3 separate regions of the Homo sapiens genome follow, and regions 1 and 3 are each linked to region 2. The links are contacts of gene promoters, found by promoter capture Hi-C in blood cells and fetal thymus (Javierre and others, 2016). All regions are on one chromosome and are shown on one strand. The core of a region is centred on a gene start or on the middle of the fragment in contact, and the rest is flanking DNA. Distances in the headings are between cores, read along the strand shown. Region 1 overlaps PRPF6 (pre-mRNA processing factor 6). Region 2 holds the start of LIME1 (Lck interacting transmembrane adaptor 1). Region 3 has its middle 3.0 kb from the start of SOX18.

Evidence for each region. Contacts are between HindIII fragments. The CHiCAGO score rates a contact against its expected background, and 5 or more counts as called.
Region 1: a fragment that was not itself captured here is called in contact with the fragment with the promoter of LIME1 in region 2 in 6 of 17 cell types (M2 macrophages, naive CD4 T cells, activated CD4 T cells and 3 more); the score reaches 6.1 in M2 macrophages.
Region 3: a fragment that was not itself captured here is called in contact with the fragment with the promoter of LIME1 in region 2 in 1 of 17 cell types (naive CD8 T cells); the score reaches 5.4 in naive CD8 T cells.

What each region holds. Positions count from the first base shown.
Region 1 is chr20:64,004,177-64,008,739 of GRCh38, reverse strand. The region is part of intron 9 of PRPF6 (pre-mRNA processing factor 6); the gene reads right to left. Among named protein-coding and RNA genes, the nearest start is that of PRPF6, 25 kb to the right of the region's middle. RefSeq lists a silencer at 3,474-3,646. The HindIII fragment of the contact is 5,259 bases long and covers 330-4,563 here.
Region 2 is chr20:63,735,349-63,739,011 of GRCh38, reverse strand. LIME1 (Lck interacting transmembrane adaptor 1) reads right to left here and starts at 2,348. Exons shown (of 6, transcript NM_017806.4): 1 at 2,300-2,348; 2 at 1,365-1,479; 3 at 1,110-1,191; 4 at 952-1,039; 5 at 513-829; 6 at 1-414. The coding sequence starts at 1,462. The coding sequence ends at 112. It overlaps ZGPAT (zinc finger CCCH-type and G-patch domain containing), which reads right to left. Exons shown (of 7, transcript NM_181485.3): 6 at 3,448-3,663; 7 at 2,870-3,231. The coding sequence ends at 3,093. RefSeq lists silencers at 733-792, 873-1,022, 1,093-1,312 and enhancers at 453-1,047, 1,247-2,163, 2,743-2,922. The HindIII fragment of the contact is 14,127 bases long and covers 1-3,663 here.
Region 3 is chr20:64,050,287-64,054,985 of GRCh38, reverse strand. No RefSeq gene overlaps it. Among named protein-coding and RNA genes, the nearest start is that of SOX18, 3.0 kb to the right of the region's middle. RefSeq lists an enhancer at 1,357-2,046 and promoters at 4,570-4,699, 4,362-4,699. The HindIII fragment of the contact is 2,452 bases long and covers 189-2,640 here.

The DNA of each region.
Region 1 (4,563 bases), core at 1,710-4,209, 270 kb before region 2:
GAAGCAAATCAAATATCTATTCTGTCTTTCCCAAATAAACTCAGAATAACCAAATCATGGATATAGGAAAATTCTTCTCTTAAGAATAATTCTGGCAATAAAAGCAAAGAGTGACCTAATTATAATGTCACCGTTTTGCACACCCTAATGAAGGAACAGATGCGGGCACGGGTCACCAGCCACTGCCAAAGGCAGGAGCTGAAAGGCTGTGGAGAACTCCATGAAGGACACTGGGGCCACTGAGCAGTGACAGCCTCTGCAGCTCCTGACGCTGCTTGCATTGCCACGAATATTTCCTTGATAAAAAAAGAAAAAAAAAACACAAAGCTTACTCTTATGAGTCTCCAAATCTACCTTCCAATTTACAAGAGGATACAGGAAACAGAGGATACAGGAAACGAGACCCACATGAAACAATCTCACAGGCTGCAGTGAGCAAACCCTGATGTGAGGAATCTCAAGGAAAAACAACCCAATTCCATCAACAAACCGAGAGAAGACATCAACCAAACGGCAATGTTCAGACTTTGCTTAGATCCTGATTCAAACCAACCATGTGTGCATGTGGTTATGCATGCATGTGCCCGTGCAGGTACTGACATGACAGCTGGAAAAATATGAATGCAGTAGACATTTAATGATGTTAAGAAATTAGGCCGGGCCAGGTACAGCCCGTAGCTCACGCCTGTAATCCCAGCACTTTGGGAGGTCGAAGTGGGCAGATCACCTGAGGTCAGGAGTTCGAGACCAGCGTGGCCAACACAGTGAAACCTTGTCTCTACTAAAAATACAAAAATTAGCCAGGTATGGTGGCATGCACCTGTAATCCCAGCTACTGGGGAGGCTGAGGCAGGAGAATCGCTTGAACCCAGAAGGCGCAGGTGCAATAAGCTGAGACTGTGACACTGCACTCTAGCCTGGGTGACAGAGAGAGACTCCAACTCAAAAAAAAGAAAAAGAAATTAGGCCAGGCAGCTGATTGTGGTGGTTCACACCTATAATCCCAGCATTTTGGGAGGCTGAGGTGGGAGGATCGCTTGAGCCCAGGAATTCGAGACTAGCCTGGACAACATGGCGAAACCCTGTCTCTACAAAAAATACAAAAATTAGCTGGGCGTGGTGGCATGTACTTGTGGTTCCAGCTAGCTGGGAGGCAGAGGTGGGAGAATCGCTTGAGCCCAGGAGGTGGAGGTTGCAGTGAGCCAAAACTGCACCACTGAACTCCAGCTCCAGCCTAGGCAAAAGAGGGAGACTCAGTCTCAAAAAAAAAAAAAAGAGGAAAAGGGCAGGGCAGGGGAGGGGAGGCGGGGAGGGAAGCGGAGGCGGGGAGGGGAAGAGGGGACGGGAGGCAGAGGGGAGGGGAGGCGGGGAGGGGAGAGGGCAAGTGAGCTAGCTCTCCTGCAGGTACCTGCTCTCCTGCTGAGAAACAGCCCCAGGCTGGCTGTGAGGCCCTGGCAGGGAATGAACACTCAGCTAAGGGACATAAAATGACTGAGCAACCTGCTGCCCACTCCAGGTGTTACTGACAGACCAAGCCACAAGGTTGGGCAGATGCAGCAGTGGCCTCATAGGGTGGAAATGGCACCCAGGAGATGGTGTGGAAGGAAGGCAGGTGCAGCACAGCTGCCTAAGCTATGGGGCAGATGCCTCCTGCACTGGTGGCTGCTCAACCGCTTTCCTCCCTCAGCCCACACTGACAACCTCTGGGGAGTCCCTTAGGGTCAAGGGACTGAGAAGACAAAAGTCTGCTGTGGTTTACGCATGGTTCTGCACAGCACACTGGCACTGACACCCCTGGCCTTATTATCTGGATGTCCACTTGACCAACTGAAAGACGGCCAGAAGACGAAGCTATATGAATTCACCGATTCAGGCAGAACATGGTCTTACCATGTGCCCATCACTCAGAGCCATGGCCTGGCAGCCCAGTAGGATGCCACAAATGCTGTGAATAGACACCAATCCCGGCTGGATCTCACAGCCAGAACACACGGGTCTAGGAATAAACAGTGATGTCTGAATGGCTCAAGTCCCATCTCCGCTGCCACAAGTCCCGTCTCCACTGCCAAGAGTCCCGTCTCCGCCTCCTTGGACCCTCCTGTCAAGAGAGCTGGTCCAAAGGCCGGGTGTGGTGGCTCACATTTGTAATCCCAGCACTTTGGGAAGCTGAAGCGGGTGGATCATGAGGTCAGGAGTTCGAGACCAGCCTGGCCAACACAGTGAAACCAAACCCCATCTCTATTAAAAATACAAAAATTAGTCGGGTGTGGTGGCAGGTGCCTGTAATCCCATCTACTTGGGAGGCTGAGGCAAGAGAATTCCTTGAACCCAGGAGGCGGAGGTTGCAGTGAGCCGAGATTGCGCCACTGCACTCTAGCCTGGGCAACAGAGCAAGACTCAGTCTCAAAAAAAAAAAAAAAAAAGAGCAAGCTACGAGCTACTCCAAAGGGAGTATGTGCCAACCAGGGTGCAGACCACAGCTCCCTCTGGCCTCCTCATGTACCAGCCCTGGCTGGAGAGGCTAACCCTGACTCCCAAAGCGAGACTGAGTTGCTGCCACCCACTGTGGGAGACTATCTAGAGGCCAGTCCTAAAAACAGTTTAGTATTTCTGCTTTTACCAGTAAAAGTTAATGGGAACTACAGCCACCAAAAAAGCAAAACTACCAACAAGTCAGACCCTTTGGGGATAAAGATATGGGTCCTGGCTGAGCACAGTGGCCCCCATCTGCAGTCCCAGCATTTTGGGAGACTGAGGTGGGAGGATCACTTGAGCCCAGGAGTTTAAAACCAGCCTGGATGACACAGGGAGACCTCGTCTCTTTGAAAAATTAAAAACTCAGCCAGGCATGGTGGTATGTCCCTGGAGTCCCAGCTATTCAGGAAGCTGAGACTGGAGGATAGTTTGAGTCTGGGAGGTTGAGGCTTCAGTGACCCATGATCATGCCACTGCACTCCAGCCTAGGCAACAGAGCAAGATCCTGTCTCAAAATAAAAATTATTTAGGCATGGTAGTATGTACCTATGGTCCCAGCTACTCAAGAGCCAGAAGCAGGAGGATCACTACAGCCCAGGAGGTTGAGGCTGCAGTGAGCTGATTGCAACACTGCTCTCCAGCCTGGGCAATAGGACGAGGCTCTGTCTAAAACAAAAAAAAGATTTGGGTTACTCATCCAGGTCAAGAACCCTGACCAAGCAGGGTGACAGCAGAGGGCACAGCAGTAAAGAAGGAAAGTCCTAACCTCCAACCAGGCGACTAGGCATAGAGAGAAGACACAGAACGACCCAGTTGTTTTTCCTGTGCGCTCTCACCTCGACTGCGTGGGAGATGAGTGCTCTATTTGTCTAAATATGAACTACTTCCCTTAATACTTTGTACATTGGTGGAGATGAACTTCGCGTCTCTAAAGAACAGAATATTCATGCGGGACTCAATTTATGGAGTCATTAACTTACGACTCCCAGGACTCTGTGTCTTCAAGTTTTGGGAGAGAGCTGACATATCTCCATGGCATCTCATCAGCAGCCCACAGGCATGGCACTAAAACCAACAAGGTCACCTTCCCCAGGTGCTTTCGGAAGCCACATGGCACACCATGATACAATGGCCTTCAAGGAGTGTGACTTTATGAGCAGAAGTGGAGGAAGCACACACCCCTGAAGTTGGCCTAGAACAGAAGAGTATTCTGAATGCTAGACACAGCCATGAAGACGTGACCGTGCAGAGGCCAACATGCTCTCCGGGGGTCACGTGACTGCAGGGAAGACCCTCAACCTGAACTGTGCCATTCCTGTGCCCCCAGAGGGACACGCTGGCGACGGCCACTGAAGGATGCCACGCTTCACAGGCCAGAGCATATGGCGTTAGTGTAAAATAACTCCACTTCCACACATCTGCATTAACTAGCGGAGTACACAGCATGTGAGTGCATTATTGTAGGGGAGCTGCCAGTCGGGCCTCCCCAGGGGACTCTGCACGTGGGACACCCCACCCTGGCCAGGAAGCTCACATGCTGCACCCTCCCCAATCCTGAAAGCCCTCTTCCCTTTTACAGAGGAAGACATGGAAGCTCAGAGGCCAAGCACCATGCCTAAGGTTACTCAGCCTCCTCAGGTCTCAAGATCAGCACCCAAAACGCCCATTCTCCCAACAAAGGACTAAGGTGTCAGCTCAGCCCAACAGCGACCCAGAGCTCACAGAGACCATGCACTGCCAGGCTCCCTGGCTGGCAGGTGTCCTAAGTCACCAGTGGAAGTAGCTGTCATCTTAATTTCAAAAACCAGACCCTTCAAGCAACGTGTAAGTGTTTGCTAATAACCAAATGAAGCAGTGCTGGGCTTCACCCCAGGAAAAGAATACAGTTTTTGGAAACACTCTTGGGAAAGGGCAGGCCAGGACCAGTATTAGGGCAGCGGCAAAGGCCATCCTGGAGATCCTGGGTTCATTCCACCTTAGCCCAGCTTCTCTGCCTGAGAGAGCACAGCCAGGAGGCCACTCCCTGAGAGAACAGCCGTGGAAACACAGTCCCTCAACACTCCCCGAAGGCCCCCGCCTCCAACAGCA
Region 2 (3,663 bases), core at 1,099-3,598:
ACCTCACGGGCTGGCAGCCCGGGGACCTGGGACTGGCGCTGTCAGCTGTGAGGCGGGGCGGGGCGGGGGACGGGCCTCACTCTGGAGGAAGGAGCACAGGTCCTTGAGTGTTCAGGGCAGGGAGGCAGGGAGGGGTCTCCAGCCCCTCCCTAGGCTGGGGCAGCTGGAAGCAGGGGGCGTCCCAGCCCCGCACGTGCTGCTCCTGCCAGCAGGGTCCCCCAGCTCCCGGATGCTCTCATACACGTTTTCCAGGGGGCCGCTGTCCACATCCAGGGCCCTGAGCGGGAGGGTCTGGTAGGCCAGGTCACCCGCCAGGGCCAGAATCGCTCCCTGGCCCTTGGGGTCCAGCGGGTCTGTGGTGGGTCCTGGGTCCCTCCTTTTAGGCTTGCAGACCCTGGAGTACAGGACGTCCACCTGGAGACAGGAAGCCAACCCGAGGAGGGGTCAGCACCATCCAACCTGCTGAGGATCTGCCGGCCCCACCCACAGCGCCCTACCCTGGCCCACGTTACCTGAGCGGCCGGGGTCACCTCAGTCTTCCCCTGCTGTGGCTCTTGGGGACTGCGATGGGTCCCTTTGCGCTTCTGGACGCGGGCATACTCGGCCACCACAGGGCTGGCCGCCAGGCTGACCCCGGGAAGGGCCGCCAGCCCCACGTTGGAATAGGTGGCCTCGAGGCCAGCGCACCCTGCGGTGGCTGCAGCTGCCGGCAGAGCCCGGGGCAGCTCCTGGTGTGGGAAGGCAGAGGGGGCTGCCTGCGGTCCGGTGATGTCCCTGGACACCTCCAGCCAGTGTGGGCGCAGGAGATCCATGCTGGCAGGCCGCAGGGCTGGGGGTGGGGTCAGGGCAGAGTTCACTCCGGGCAGGGGGCAGGAGCGGGTCTGGCCCAGGGGTTGGCACGCGCTGCACAGTAAGCCCCGCCCGGCCGCCCCCGCCCCGCCCTCTGCTCACCCCTGCTGCTGCGCGGGCCCCGGTGCAGCTCGTGCAGTCTGGTGTCCGACTTGCTGAGGGAGCAGAGGTGGGTCCGCCTCAGTAGGGACTGGGGGCGAGGAAGGCTGGTCGGTGCCCTGCGGACCCCACCCTGGTCCCCGGGACAGCCTGGCACTCACCGCTTCCGCCGCCGTCGCACTGCCCTGCAGCCTCGCCCGCTGCCTCCGCGCCCTCTTCCTGGGGGCTACAGCGTCCTCGGGCCTTGGGGGTAGAGGTGGGGGGCGGGGGGCGGGGTCGTCAGCCTCGGGTCCAAGGCCCGGTGCAGGCGCGCGTGCCGAGCTGGGTGCGCGGACCTGCCTCCAGCCCCTTCCCGCGCTGGGCTGTGAATGGCAGCCGCAGCGAGGCCCCAGACAGAACGCGGCTGAGGGACCTACCTGCGGCAGGCTGTGCACAGCGCCCACAGCGAGAGGAGCAGGGCGCAGCACCCTAGAACCCAGAGGGCAGGAGGGGCCCAGGACACTGGCAGCCCCATCCTGTGAAGCCGAGGCCCTGGGGACAGAAGAAAGGGGCGCTGGGGGCTGGCCAAGGGGACCTGGCGCCACCTGGCAGCCCCAAATCTGCACCTCCCGCGGCTGCGGGGCTCCTGCGTCTCCCGTTCCAGCTCTGACTCAGCACAGGAAGCCCCAAGGCCTGGCAGTCCCTCCCTCCCAGAGGTGCCCACCTTCTGGCGGGGGCTCCCGGTGAGGTGAACTAGGGCTGCTCTGCCTGGCCCCTCCGTGTCCCTGCGGGTGACCACGGTAACACCCAGCACGGCCGTGAGGAGGGGCAAGACAGCTGTGGCCACCATAGCCCAGATAGTAACCAGCATCGGGGGAGCCCCTGGGTGTGCGCCACAGGCCACAGACTCCACCTGCAGCCACCCTCTGCCCAGACATGGTCTCCTGTGTCAGGTAGTGCCCCCAAGCCGCTCGCTGCGGAGCCCAGAACTGGGAAGAGCTGGAGGCTGGTCAGCAGGAGGGACCCTGCACCCGGAGGAGCTGGAGGCTGGGTCAGCAGGCAGCAGCAGCTGCTGGGGGTGCTGATGCCCCCACCCCACTTCTCTCTGGCTCTTCTTGTCTGCCAGTGTCTCTGCCAGAGAGGATCTGTCCCCTTCTTGGGGATCTTAGCAGAACTTCTCGGGGTGGGGGATGCCTTACAAACAGCACAGTCCAGCAGCAGAGACAGAAGCTGGGGGGTGAGGGGTGGTCTCTGGAGTTTGGGGCCAGTCTGCTCAGACCCAGGGAGTGGGCTTCAGCCTGGCTGACTGACCCAGCTGCAGCCACATCCCAAGGCCTCCCAGACCCCAGCTGCCCCCCAGGAGGGCACTTACCAAGCCCACGGCCAGGGGTCCTCAGCTCTGTCTGGGGCAGGCCAGGAAGGTCTTTGTGCAGCCCTCGGCTGAGCTCCCCACCTCATCACTTCCTGCTCCTGTCGCCAAGCGCCTCCCCTGAGCCTCCCACCCTGGGCAGCAGCCACCACCGCAGCCTCACCCACCTGCTGCGCCCCGCCCGAAGCCTAGATGAAACGTGTGCGCCTCTAGCCCGCACTGTTCTGACAGCCTAACTCACAACCCCTCCACACACGAAGACGTGAGCAGAGCTGGCACAGAACCCCCAAACCCACAGGGCCAGGTCCGCCTGCCTCACCAAGAGTGCCCCACGTGGTGGGCCACAGTCCTCTCCCGCCCGTCTCGCCCGCTGGAGCAGCACTGAGCTCCACCCATCTGTGGGTGTCAGGCAGCCTGGCGGGCACCCTGGCCTCCGATCTGCCTTGGTCAGAGAAGGGTAAGAAGGGAGAATGCCGGCCTCCTAGGCCCCTCCAGCCCAGCCCGTCTCTCACCACAGCCCTGCACAGACCCTTCTCTCCCCAGAGACCCTGCAGCCAGCTGATCTCCACTGAATGACACTGTGATGAAATCACTTTAATGTCCTTGCCAAGGAAATGCCCAAGACACTGGCAGGTGGGCAAGTAAGTGTCCAGATGGGACCCCGCAGCTCTGTCTCCACTCAGCAGTGTCTGCACGCCCCAGGCCAGCAGGCCGGCCCCTCCTCGGGCAACACTGGTCTTCCTGAGGGCAGCCCGTGCTGGGGTCCCACGCTTCGTCCATAGTGCTTGTGGGGTCTCTAGAACTCAGTCATCTTCTTGTGGGTGTCTGCCTTCCTCTGCTCCTGCTGCAGGCCGGCTTCCTGAGCCCGGAGCTGCCCCAGCTGGCGCTGGGCTCCTGCCAGCTTCTCCTGCAGCTGGGCTGACGCCACGCTATGCCTGCGGAGGGGCTCACTAGTCAGCGTGGGGTCCTGGGCCATGCCACCAACCCCAGTCTGCCGTACCCACTGCCTGTGTGCCCGCTGCCCGTCCTCCAACATGCAGACCCCTCCTGGACTCAGCCCGCTATGCTTGGGTCAGGTGACCTCCAGCATGTATCCCGGGGGCAGGGCCACCCTGGGTCGCCCTTTGCCCTGAGCTGGGCCCCACACGTACCGGCCAGCGTTGCGGGCGAGAGCCTCCTGGATGCTCCTGATGTCCCGCTGGGTTCGCTCGATCTTCTCCTCAGTCTGGAAGAGCCGCAGGCTCAGGGCCCGCTTGGCACTCTTGCTGGCATGGTACATGTCCTTGCTCCTCCTCCCCGCTGGGGCCGCCCCGGCTTCTAGGGCCCCAGGAGCCTGACCTTGCAGCTTTTCATTGAGGAAGTCAAAC
Region 3 (4,699 bases), core at 165-2,664, 320 kb before region 2:
TGTATTTTTTTTTTTTTTTTTTAAGTAGAGGCAGGGGTTTCACTATATTGGCCAAGCTGGTCTCGAACTCCTGACCTCAGGTGATCCGCCCACCTTAGCCTCCCAAAGTGCTGGGATTACAGGCATGAGTCACCACACCTGTTTGTGGATTTGTTGATTGTCTGTCTCTTCTCACCATAATGGAAGCTTCCCACAGGCAGGGACCTGTCTGTTTTGTTCTCTGCCAAATTCCTAACCCCTAAAACAGGGTCTACTACACAACAGGTGCTCAATAACAAATGGATGGATAGATGTTGCCTGTCCCTGAGCAAGAAGGGGTGGATGAGCCCCCAGAACACAGGCCTGCCCCCTCCAGCCTATGTGGCAGCCCCAGCTGGCTGTCACCAATGCCAGGACAAGCAACAAAAAGAAACACACAGCTTCAGGCATCCGGCCCTGCAGTGCCCCTCCGTGGCTGGGAGACAGATGACCCCTGAGGATGTTCTCCCTCTCCCGACTTACCAGCCTGGCAGGGGAGAAGGAGGCTGGGCCAGCCCAGGACAGGGTAGTCAGAGTGGACACTGCCCTCCAGGGACCCTGGGGACCGGAGTGTGCTAACACATGCCCCACGGTGCAGGGTACACTGAGAGCCCCATCTGGGCCTCTACAGAGCCACAAATGGACTGGGGCTCACATAAGCACAGGACCAGGTCACCCACAGACCCAAGCCCAAGTCACCACGGTCTGAATAAAGGCAGCCATACAAGCATGGAGGTGGAGACAAGGGTGGGGCCAGCGGAACTTGGGCAGGAGCTCCCAGCCAGTGGGGGCCGGGGCCGCAGCACAGAATGTCTGGCGCCTGCTCAGCCCAAGCTGGCCCCAGGCCCCCTCCTGCAAGGCCGGCCTTCCTTCCTGAGCTGCAGTTTCCTGGCCCCTCCCTGCTGTTGCCTCAGAAACCCGGAGCAGCCCAGCCCCCCAGCCTGCTTCCCATGGAACCCCCCCAACACACACACACACACAAACATCACTGGGAAGGCCGCACAGCAGGCAGCAACACCCAGGGACACAAGCGGCCCTGCAGCCGCCCCCAGGGCAGGACACCCCAAGGGCCACACAATGGCCCCCACGGAGCTCAAGCAGCTGCTCTGACACCCCGACTCTTGCCCAGTGCCCCTAAAAGTGGGCACAGCCCTTGATAACACCCTAGGTACATGCCCACCACAGCACAACACCCCAGAATTTGAGAACAGCTTCCACATCACCAGGGCCCTGGGAGCACCTACAGAAGCCCCGCTCGCCGCAGATGACCCGACCCCGACTGTCCACAGCACATCTGCTACCCGAAGCCCAGCATCACCCTGTGCATTCAGCACTCCCACCCCCACCAGCCCCCTGTGGCCCTCGACCCAGAGAAGCCCCTACCCCTCTCGGTCCTGCTGGCCCTTAGCACCGAGTAGAAGAGACCCTGACACCACACGACGACTGACACCTGACACCACACGACGACTGGCACATCACCCCTTAGACTACAAAAGCACCCCACTCACACCGCACACCCCAGCCTGCAGGCCCCAGCACAGCCCCCTGCACCCACACCTTCAGACCCTTCCCCACTCGCACCGCAACCCCAGCTCTGCATGCAACTCTCGGGTCCGCTGGACTGCGGCAAATCGTCAGGTGAACCCTAACCCCACACCTAACAGTTGAGAGGCGCCGCCCAGGTGAGCAGGAGCATGTGCACCTCTCATGCCTGCTCATGCCTAGGAAAGCACAGGCACCTCCTGCCGCCCCACCTGCCCTCTCCCAGAGTTGAGGCCGGCAGCTATCGGAAGCCCGGTGACGCTGTGCACACCAGGACTGAGAGCTGGAAGGCACGGAGCCAGGAGAAGCCTCTGTCCCTGGGCAAGGGCCACCTGAACCGGACCTGTCATTGGCCAAGAGGGACATGCACACAACTGTGTCCACCTGGTGCTGAGGCGTCAGGCGGCCTCGTCACAGACCCTCGCCCCAGCTTCACATTCTCCCTGCCCTGGCCTCTGCCATGTCTCACTAGGCCTGGAGCCGCCACCCCAGGACAAGGCCCACTAAATACAGAGCTCCTGAGGAGTCAGACATGCCTCCACGGGTCCCAAAGGAAGCCTACCGAGGCAGCAGACAGAAGGAGACCAAGATGCTATGGCCTCTGGAGGACAGTGGCTGGGAGGTCGGGGGCTCCCTGTAGGAAGAGGTGTTCAGCTGTGGGCAGAAGGTAGGATCTGAACTGGAGAGAGCCGAGGTTCGGGAGGCCAGAGAGCCCCCTCCACCTGAAACTGCATCCAACAGGAACCCCCACCTTCACCCTTGAGGAGCAGGAGGGTCCAGGCCCTGCGGGACTCGGTAATTGGTCCCAGCCTCGCTGCTCTTGCAGCCGCAGGGGCTGGGCTGGTGGGATCCTGGGAGGTCTGTGCCCAGGCAGTGGCTGGGAGGTCCTGCCATCCCGGCCCAGAGCCGCGCCAAGCCAAGCTCCCACCCAGAGCCACGGAGGGGGACTACCCAGCATCCTTTGCGGACCTCACTCAGAGGCCGGGGTTCCTGTCCAAGCTGAGGGAGAGGGGCAGGTGGCAGGCAGGAGGACAGTGTCCACTCAGTGCCCAGGCCAGCCCCACCCTTGTAGAGAAAGCTTGCCCCCAAACTCTGCCTTTCTGACTGGGGCTTGGGGGCTACAGATAGGCTCCTTCCCAAGGGTGGGCCATAGCCCACCTAGTCCAGGACAGACTGAGGTGGGGTTCCAGAGGCAGAGGAATGCCCCTAGACTCATGAACTGCCTGCCCTCTTTTGGAGAATGCTGGGGCCCAAGCTCAGTGGCCAGAGAAGCCTTGGGGACCCTCCAAACTTCACGGAGCAGGACCCCTGGTCCTGGACCTATTATGGGTCCTCATCTCTTCCTGGGAACGTCCAGCTTGCCTGGCTCTCAAGGCCCTGGGCAGCCTCCAGCACTAGAGTCCCCCTCACCCCACACCCAGGCAGACAGACAGACACAGGCCACACACAGATGCACAGACACACATCGGATGCCCCTCCCTCAGCACAGCTGGCCACACCCACACCATCCCCTCTACAGCCCTGGCAAGTCCCCCCAGCCCTGCGGCTCCAGATCACGCCACCCTGGCTGTGGTCCCTACCCCCACTTTGTCCCATCTGGACACTGGGCCAGGGCTGCCAGCCTCCTCCCTGCCACGCAGAGGGAGAGGAGCACCTCAGGAGGCTCCCCGCCCAGCCCCGACTCACAGGACATGACAGCCGGACACCTGAGTCCACAGCCCAGCCAAGAGGGTGGGTCACTGGCTGGCGCCAGGCAAGGCGGCTGCTGGTGGGTGTTGTGGGGGACGTGGAGGCGATGAGGTCATGCCGGACACTGCCTGCCACTATGTTTAGAGCAGCTCCAGTGACTCTGGGCTCTCGGGGGTGGCAGAGGACCAAGCAGGGCCCCCAGGGAACTGCAAATCCTTCCCCACGTGTGAGGGCTACTGCAGAGGACCCCGAGGACCTCTTTCCCAGGCCGCAGTGACCAGCCACTGCCCAGGCTGAGCCAGGCCCTGGTGACCCCTGACTGCAACCCTAAGGTTGTGAGTAGAGAGAGCTTCCGCCAAGTGGTAGCCCTTTGGGGTCTTCGCACGGCTCCCCACCCCCCCTGCACCCTCCTGCCAGCTGCCCAGGAGGCCCACCCACACTGAGACTCGGCCAAGGGTCCAGCCACCCATACTGAGATTAAAGGAGGACTAGCAGCATCCGGCAGAGGCCTGTGAGCCCCTCCATCCCTGTGGCCACAACCCTGCCTGCCTCCCCAGAAAAGCCAGGGGCCGCACCTCCTGGTGCCCCACGGGCCCCCCATTAGCCAGCACTGGCTCAGTGTCTGTGAACGAGGTGCTAGGCCCGTGGGGCAAACTGGAGGGACGGGAGATCTGGAGACCAGACTGGGAGACCCAGCCCCGTATGCTGGGACGATGGGCGTCGAGACAGACTGTGATGTGGGGCTTTGGGGAGGGCTGGACACCGACCGCGACAGCCCTCGGTGGGAGTGCCCCTGTGGGGGTGCTGGCCTCAGGGCAGGAGTGCCCCTGGGGACAGTTCAGGAACAGCCTCTAAGGGGCACTGCAAGGCCCACGTGGGGCCCACCCCATTCATAACACAGGCTGGATGTGGCCTAGCGAGGCTGGCAGGGACAGAGAACCAAGAGCTTCTGGCCACACAGGCTCAGGGTCACAAGACCTGTGGCCTCTACCCATGGGGCTCCCGGCATAGTGTGGCGGGGGGAGCTGGGGAGCCTCCAGGCTATGAGGAGATGTGCCGCGAGGTGGCGAGATTCTGACCCTGCCTGGAGGGCTGCTGGGGACACCCAACCCTTCTCCAGTAGAACCATGCGTGGCAGTGGGAGGGGAGGACCTCCAGAGGGAGACCCTCAGCTCTGGAGCCCAGATCCCCTCCTGATGGAGTAGGAAGGGGACAGTGAAAATTCAGGAAGCTGGACGCTCCTCCGGAACCCGCCCCCGCCCAGGTCAGAGGGTCCAGGGAGGGGCCAGTGGGAAGGACCCAGGTAGGCCCTGCCTCTTGCTGCAGCGGTGGCCTGGGCTGGGCAGGGGAGCCAGCAAGCCACTGAGGGTCCCAGCCCCTTCCCCAAGGGCCCTTGGGGGGCAGGGAGGACGCCACAGCCTCTGCGTCCCTGCTCCCCCTTCTCTTTGTG